3 separate regions of the Homo sapiens genome follow, and regions 1 and 2 are each linked to region 3. The links are contacts of gene promoters, found by promoter capture Hi-C in blood cells and fetal thymus (Javierre and others, 2016). All regions are on one chromosome and are shown on one strand. The core of a region is centred on a gene start or on the middle of the fragment in contact, and the rest is flanking DNA. Distances in the headings are between cores, read along the strand shown.

Region 1 (2,700 bases), core at 109-2,608, 350 kb after region 3:
TATTTAAAGTGTAATTGCAAATAAATGTGAGATTAAGACCATTAACTTGTCCTTCAGAGCTATTTTGTATTTATTAAAAACGCATGTATATTAGAATGTGTTGAACTATTAAACTGCACATGGTTGGATTTAACTATGGAAGTCTCATCCAAGAGATTGAAGGAGAAATCGAAGGAACTGTGTCAAGACATCTGAAAATAGATTCCATCCTGATCTTACTCTTCTGCTACTGAATTAGTATATGTCAGGAGGAGATTGAAATCATGAAACGCTCATTTCAAATGAAGTAATTTCTATTAAAGATTATGTATTTCTCTTTTCCTCTGATTTTGGGGGAGGGATAGAAATGAATTATGGTACACTGACCTTGAAGATATGGAAAAACAGATTAACTAAAATTATTTACTTTTCATCTTGATTTTTGATCTAACATGCACCAAAAAAAGATCAGCGTATTTTACTAGAAGAAAATTGTAGTGTCCTTATAAGATTCTCAGATATCCCTTTACCCTCTGTCACTTACTAGTTGTGAGAGGTTAAGCTAGCAGTTTGATTACTCTAGGTCTCAGTTCTTCCAGAAACAAAATGAGAATAATAGTACCTGTCTAGAGGCATCAGACTGGGTCAAATGAAGTTTCAAGAACCTTTTCAACATAAAAGATTTTTAGTCGATAGACTTTCCTAATAATAAAGGTGCAGTTACTCTAGCCTGTATAAGCATCCTTAAGAAATTAAACCATTCCACATTAAAATTATCATTGTAAAATTTAATGCAATTTGTTTCAGAGAAATTCATATAGAATACTCAATATAAACAAAGAATAGTCCAGATCCATTAGTGTCAGGCTCTATAAAAATAGTAACAGCTGAAAGATTTCAAAGTGATAATGTGAGAGCATAAGTTAGAAAAATTACAGATATAATATGATTAGTTGTAAGATGCTCACTCTCACCTCAGAAGATTGAATACTTAATTCTGAGGATTTGGTTTTAGTTTTTTTTCATGAATATACAATAACTCAAAGTCAATGTAGAATAAATTGACTTTAAATATGTGCTACAATTCTTAAATTACATTGGGATAGTACATAAATGAATTAATTGCCAAATAATGTTTACTTCAAATTGATGTTAACAATTTTTGTTCTTAATTGGCAGGAAAAAATGTTAGTATTACCATTAATTTTTAAATTTGTCTTTTAATAAAATCCAAACAAATAAAGGGGTGCCTATAGAATGTCCAGAAATAAGTAATAAATCTAGATCTAGAAGAATGCAAGAAAGGAAGAAAAGAAACAAGAATAAAAAGGTACATAAAAGAAAACACAGAACTACATGGTAGATTTAAACCCAAATGTATCAATAATTACAAACATTTTCATTAAAACATTTCTTCTTTGGGTCTACTCCACTTACCAATGAGCCTTTGGTTTTCAGGTGAAATACAATTTCTAAACCACTCATTGTGCCTTTTTTTCTCTGCATTCTTCATATTTATTAAACGTTATTATTTACTCTCCTATTTCCTGAACTTTCATTCTAGAGATCTTCGGAAATGGTTCTTTATCCAAATAATGCTTTTTAATGAATTTCATGTCTCATATTAATTTTATCAGCAACATTTTGGTGAGTTGCTTGTAGCTTTGTTCTGTATCATTTTTCTTAGTCTCTTGAATTTCATTTTCCTCAAAATCAAAATATAATCTAATAACTTAAAGAATATAAAATGTCAGCTTTTCTACCAGTGATTTTGCTGAAACAAAATTTTTCGAGTGTTAATTATATGTCAGTAATAGGATGCTCAGAACTGAGTTTCTGTTTTAAACTTGAAAGCTAAAGACTTTTTCATTCTCATCTTATTTCTTCCATCTGTTTTAATGTTTATGATAATGGTAATTTGCTTTTTTCCCCCTTCCCTCTCATGTGTCTTTATACAATTAATAGTATGTTGATTGATATATTCAGTTTTATTTTTACTATGTCAGACTCTTTAGTCTTAGAGTTTCTTTATATTCCTCTGTCATATCTTTGAAAATAGTTTTTCATTATATATATATTAGAATAATATCAAATATATCTTTATTTTTAAAAATAGTTGCAACTGTTTTAATAGTTGCACATGGTTTTTAAAAATCAAATATTACCAAAAGATACATCCAAAAAAGCACTTCTTCTCTCAACCACATGCCACCCCCAGTTACTGCCCTCAGACAGTTAACTCTTCAACTATTTTGCTGTTTTTTATTTCCTCTGTGCTTCTAAATATGTGTATGCTGCTACTTCTGGATTTATCCGTTTTGTCATTACTTTTTGACTCCTTGATATGGCCCCCTTCACCTCATACCCTTTCCCTATCATCCCAATGGGGTCATAGTTAGTGCTTACATTATCATGAGTCATATTCCTTACTTATAGAACTTTCCTTTACTTATAGAACTTTCCCTTACTTACAGAACTTATAGAATTCTCTCCCCAATGCTCAAACATATCAAATAATACAGCAATTTCACTTTTTTTCCGTGTTGTCCTTTCTCCTGGAATAATCCATCCTTCTACTTCAGTTAGGATTTTTTTCTGACCCTCAGCATAGTTGTTATCCTGAAATTTTCATGGTTGTTTTCCTGTGCAGAATTCTCTGTTTTCTTCATCCCAAGTCTTCCTATTGCTTAGTTTACGCTCTCATTTTGCTAAAGCGTCTAA
Region 2 (2,700 bases), core at 186-2,685, 300 kb after region 3:
ACCGCACTTGTTGTATTTCCTTCATTTGGTGTATGTGTGTATCTGAATCAGTATCGTGTCTAGATTTCGCCACAATATTTTATCATAGGTATTTCTCAATGACAATATTCTCTAAAATTATGTATTCATCTATGTATAATAGTAATGATAACAGTAACTACCATTTATTGAGCTCTGCTATTGAGGAATTCTGGGTATTGTATAAAGCACCTTACATATATTATCAGTTATTCCTTAGAACGTCCTCATGAGGCAAGCATTTTTGAAGTTAAGCAACTTGCTTAAGGGCATAATGTTTATTAGAAACTGGGATTCAAACCAGACCTGCATCCTCCAAGGCTGATAGTCTTAAGTACAATATTCTATGGAATAAAAACTCATCTTTTAGGGAATATCTAAATTTTAACAATAAAAACCTCTATACATAAATTCTGTGCACATTTAAGTATCTTCTTAGGATTAATTGTTTGAAGTAGAATTAAGAATCTGAGGAGTTCAGCATGTATAAGATACTTGATATATATTACCAAATTGACCTTCATAAAGATGATATTAATTTATTTTCCAACCAGCAATGAAAGTGATTTTCATTTTACTTAACCCCCACCAAAAAATAGTTTTTTTGAAAAAAATCTTTATTTTTCTATTGTAACTTGTCATATTTTTAAATTATTTTATGACTACTAAGTTTATATATGTATCATCTTTTCTTTTTCCAATGTCCTATTCACTCCTTTACTCATGTTTCTATTAATGAGAACATATTTTACTTAATAATTTGTGAGAGTTTTTGTTATATTAAAGATAGGAAACTTTTGTCAGTCATATATGTTGCAAATACTTCCCCAGTTTGCCTTCTAATTTTGAAATTTTTTATGTAATAAAATGTATCAGTATTTTATTTTGTCTTTTGCTTTTAGCCTTGGAAAAATTTTTATACTTTTAAATTTTTATAGCTTCTTAATTTTACTTTGAACTCTTTAAACTCTCAGGAATTTATTTCAACAAAGGGATGAGGGAAAATCTACTTTTTTTGTCCAAATGACAATGCTATATTTTCTGTTTTATTAAATCATCTTGCCATTCACCATCAACTTAAAATGCCACCTTTAGCTTGGTATAAATTTCTATATATTTTAGAGTCTATTTCTTGCCTTTCTATTCTACATCTATGATTTATTCTTTTGTGACTACTATGGTACATTAATAACTGAAGTTTTATAATATGTTTTAATATTTGCAAGTGAAAGTTCAATTTCACACAAAATTTTTCTCTCTCAGAATGTTTTTGGACATTCTCATCTGTTCTTCCAGATGATTTTAGAAATGATTATGTCAAATCTCACAAAAAACGTCTGTGAAGATTTGTATTAAAATTACATTAAACATACAAATTATTTTGCAGAGAATTCTATTCTTAAAATAGTTGGTCTCCTTGGTATTCTTATAGTTATTAAACCCTAAGTCATCTTATTAAAATCAGGACTATTTTTATGAACTCGAGGCTTCCCAGGGAATATTTCATAGTCCTGTCTCCAGCCCTAATAAACATGGCCATTGCCATGTATGTCCCATTACAGCAAAAGGTAGTAATAATATAATAATTATAACAGTCATATCGGGCTTTTTAATCATCCAGGTTGGCTTCCATGTTCTCTAACATTAAAATACAGAAACTCCAAGCTCTTTGGTGACAAAGAATCTAATATGTAAATAATATATCAAAGCTAAAAATCTAAAGTCAATAAGCATTTCTCAGTTTGGAAAATCTTCAAAGGAATTAGCAGTCTCCTTCTAGTTTTTTCCACAGAGGAAACTGGGAAATTATTAATAGTTTTTTTAAATTTTCTCATAATCACTATAGTGCCCCGTCTCATGGCCTTATGTAGTGTACATATAATTATAAAATTTTCCCATCAAGCAACTTAAAATACATTTGCCTTATCCTGAGTCAGAGAACTCTAAAAAATTAGTAATACAGAATGGGATCTATAGCAGACACAATTTCCCTGAGGAATAACTGGTATTGCCAAATCCATAAAAAGAACTTTCCAAGAATTGGGGAACATAAAAGTCCAAGAATGAATGAGCTGTCTGCTTCCCACATAACTCAAATCCCTAAGCATCTTTGTGGGTACAGGACTTTGTGCATATGGCTAGAAGCTCATTAAATTATTGTGTATAAAATGTCTTCAAATTTTAGACCACTATTATATATGTCTCTAGCAGAAAAAGAACTGTCTTGTAGTATGGCAGGACTTACTAAAGGGCGTTCTGCTTAAAATATACATAAAAGGTGGTTCTGTAGGAATGAGTTTGAACAAGGCAGAGTTTAAGTTAAATAGGCCTCTTTACAATGGGATTTCTCAAGGTCTTTAATAGACAAATGTGAAACTTCAGGACAGGAAGAGTTTGCAGCACTTTCTGAACAATTGACACAGAATCTCTTTTTAAGGTAGTCACTAATGATCCAAGGAACCTTTTCAGGAATACTAACTACTGGGATAGAAGCCATGATCTCCACATTAGAAGGTTTTCTAGTTTTTCACCAAATAATAACAGCTGTTACTCACAATCATACATTTGCCTATAGAAAAGAGAAATGTAATTACATGCTGGATTCATTGGTGGGTTTTCATCTCTGAATTTGGATTCGAGACCCACTACTTACTGGCAACATGTGTCCTTAGTTACTCAATC
Region 3 (2,724 bases), core at 10-2,509:
CCGTCACGATCACAAAAGTCATCTTCACCGTGCGGATCTTGGCCCGGGAAATGGACTTCACGCTGCTGACACAGGGTGCGAGCAGGAACCCCTTTTGGAAGGCCACACCCGCTTGCTCTGCACCCTTGCTCTGGCGCGACGCCGTCTTCCCGCGGACGTTGCACCAGATGTTGTAGCAGATGAAGCCGTAGCAGGTACCCAAGATGACCACGGGCGCCACAAAGATGCCGCCCGTCATCCAGGTCACGTAGGCACGAGAACCCCAGGGCTGGATGAAGGTGGCCCAGCAGTCGCGGGCCTTGGTGACATTGTTCACCTCGATCATGGAGAAGACGAAGTACTGCGGCGTGCTCAGCACGAAGCTCAGCACCCAGGCGGCCGCGATCATGAGGCGCGAGCGGCGCGCGGGCTGTTGCAGAGTCTTGAGCGGGTGGCACACCGCGATGTAGCGGTCGGCTGTCATGACTACCAGCATGTAGGCCGACGCAAACATGCCGAACACCTGCAGGTGCTTCACCACGCGGCACAGCCAGTCGGGGCCGCGGAAGCGGTAGGTGATGTCCCAGCACATTTGCGGCAGCACCTGGAAGAATGCCACGGCCAGGTCGGCCAGGCTGAGGTGTCGGATGAAGAGGTGCATGCGGGACGTCTTGCGCGGCGTCCGGTGCAGAGCCAGCAGTACGCTGCTGTTGCCCAGCACGGCCACCGCGAAAGTCACCGCCAGCACGGCGATCTCCAGTTTGGCCAGCTCCTCGTTGCGCACGTCCCTCGGTGGGCCGTTGCCCTCCCCGAGGGCTTCGGCCTCCCGGCTTGTGTTGCCAGCGCCGGTGGCCAGAGGCCACCATGGGCTGGAGTTGCCCGAGGGCCCCGCGTCGGGACCGGCGGAGAGACGCATGCTGTCCATGCAGCTCCTACTCGGCCCTCTTCGGAGCTCCAGCCCTCGCGGGCCGCTCCCTCCCCGTCTCGGAGGACTTGGGCTCCTCGTCCGAAGCGCAGGGTCTTTGGCGCGCTCGCAGCTTGCCGGGCTCTGCGATCCCTCCAGTGGGCGTCTCCCGGAGCAGCGTCCCGCCTGCCCACTGAGCAGCTCTCAGCAGGGTGAGCTGGCCCCTCTCCCTGCTCTGCCTTTTTTCAACTTCGGCGAGGTCGGGAAGGTGAGCTCCGAGCTTCCGGAAGCACTGGGTTCCCAACTCAAGTATTTATGCGGTGCTTGTTTCCTTGGGACGCGCTCCCTCCCGCCCTATTGCCGGAAGACTGCTGGTTGCCTACTCCCCGCTCCCTGGAGTTTTATTTTTTCCTCTCCCTACGTCGGTGTTTGTCCTCTGCATCACTGTGGAGGGGGTGGAGCTGGGAGACTCGCAGATTCCTCCTCACAGTAGGTGGGATCGTGGCGCTTTCCCGCTTTTCCCTTCCAAAAACTTGGACAACTGGACGAGTCATGCCTTTTCTGGGCTCGTAGCCGTTTCCACAAGCTTCCCTCACTAGCCTTCCTCGCTAGCCTCCTTAACCATGCATTTGACTTCAACAGGCACGCTAAGCGCGGTACCTGGAAACCTCCAGTCCACGCACCGGCGTCCACGCATCTAGCTCCTGCACCTGAACCTGGCTCTCGACCTCACCTCCTCCAGTCCGGGTTTCTTCCTTCTCACCGAGCTCACCCGTGCAGCAGTCTGGCAAATTTTATTCCCCAGGCAAATTTTCCCGGGGCAAACATTTCTCCCCGCTCGTGACTTAAAGAGCTATCTCTTCCTAGTAACGTCTTTGATGCATGCTATTTATTACCCTATGTTTGCGACGGGAAGAACGCACTCATCACTTTGCAGCCCCAGTGGCTGCTGTGCCTGTATTCACAGCGGGGTTTGGGGGGAGTGTCTCCTGGTTTTCTCTATGGAGACTAGGGACTTAAGGAGTTTTCTCTAGATTCCTGGGGTTTTCTGCGGGAAAAGCCTGATTCCCACAGCGGGGATGGCGGAAATTTGGCCGCAGTGGTCCGTGGGGACCGTCTGGTTACTACTGAGTCGTGGGGACATCTTTTTGGGTGGACAAAGAGCAGCTGCCGGACAGCGGCCATCCAGGCAGTGCTGTCCAGGGCAAGGGACAGAAAACCCGCCCGGCTCCTGTGCTCAGGAGTAAGAAAGAGGCAATCTCAAAGAGAGGAAAGAGGCCCTGGGAAGGAGGGGAAACAACCACCTACCTAGTAATCCGTTACTCTGAACAGCTGGAGCCCCTCTGCAGGGCGGGAGGGAGGCAGAAATGCGATCTCCCTCAGCTCTGTTTTAACGTTGGTGAAGATATGCCTCGACGGACAGCAAGGGGGAGCTGTTTTCAGGCAATTTTACAAGGAAGAAAGGAAGCCGTTTCTGCAGTTATCTGCTGTGTAGATGCAGGAGCATGACTTTGTTGGTCAGAACGTTTCAGTATTGTGGCCGTGGTATAAATTTAATTGCCTCAGAAAAATATCACCCTCTGTGAAACGTAGGCAAAAAATGCAAAAGATTTTATTCATTGCAGTTCTCAGTAATAATTCCACTTTACTATCCAGTCCGTTCATGCAGAGTTACCAAGGTTGTCACGTTGAGATGCTGGACTTGAAATCTGGAGTCCTGCTTCCTGTGGCTAGATAATCCTGGGTCTGTGCGTCTTATAAATGGAAATGAAAGGACCTGCCTTTCCTGTTGTTGAGGTCATCGGGAAGATCAAGTAAGACAATGTTCTGTATGGGGGAAA

What was found. Contacts are between HindIII fragments. The CHiCAGO score rates a contact against its expected background, and 5 or more counts as called.
Region 1: a fragment that was not itself captured here is called in contact with the fragment with the promoter of AVPR1A in region 3 in 2 of 17 cell types (M2 macrophages and megakaryocytes); the score reaches 5.7 in M2 macrophages.
Region 2: a fragment that was not itself captured here is called in contact with the fragment with the promoter of AVPR1A in region 3 in 4 of 17 cell types (M2 macrophages, M0 macrophages, megakaryocytes and 1 more); the score reaches 10.1 in M2 macrophages.

The regions. Positions count from the first base shown.
Region 1 is chr12:63,501,176-63,503,875 of GRCh38, forward strand. No RefSeq gene overlaps it. Among named protein-coding and RNA genes, the nearest start is that of LINC03056, 130 kb to the left of the region's middle. The HindIII fragment of the contact is 2,922 bases long and covers 1-2,700 here.
Region 2 is chr12:63,453,515-63,456,214 of GRCh38, forward strand. No RefSeq gene overlaps it. Among named protein-coding and RNA genes, the nearest start is that of LINC03056, 81 kb to the left of the region's middle. The HindIII fragment of the contact is 5,832 bases long and covers 1-2,700 here.
Region 3 is chr12:63,149,942-63,152,665 of GRCh38, forward strand. It overlaps AVPR1A (arginine vasopressin receptor 1A), which reads right to left and starts at 1,260. Exons shown (of 2, transcript NM_000706.5): 1 at 1-1,260. The coding sequence starts at 895. The HindIII fragment of the contact is 3,248 bases long and covers 1-1,467 here.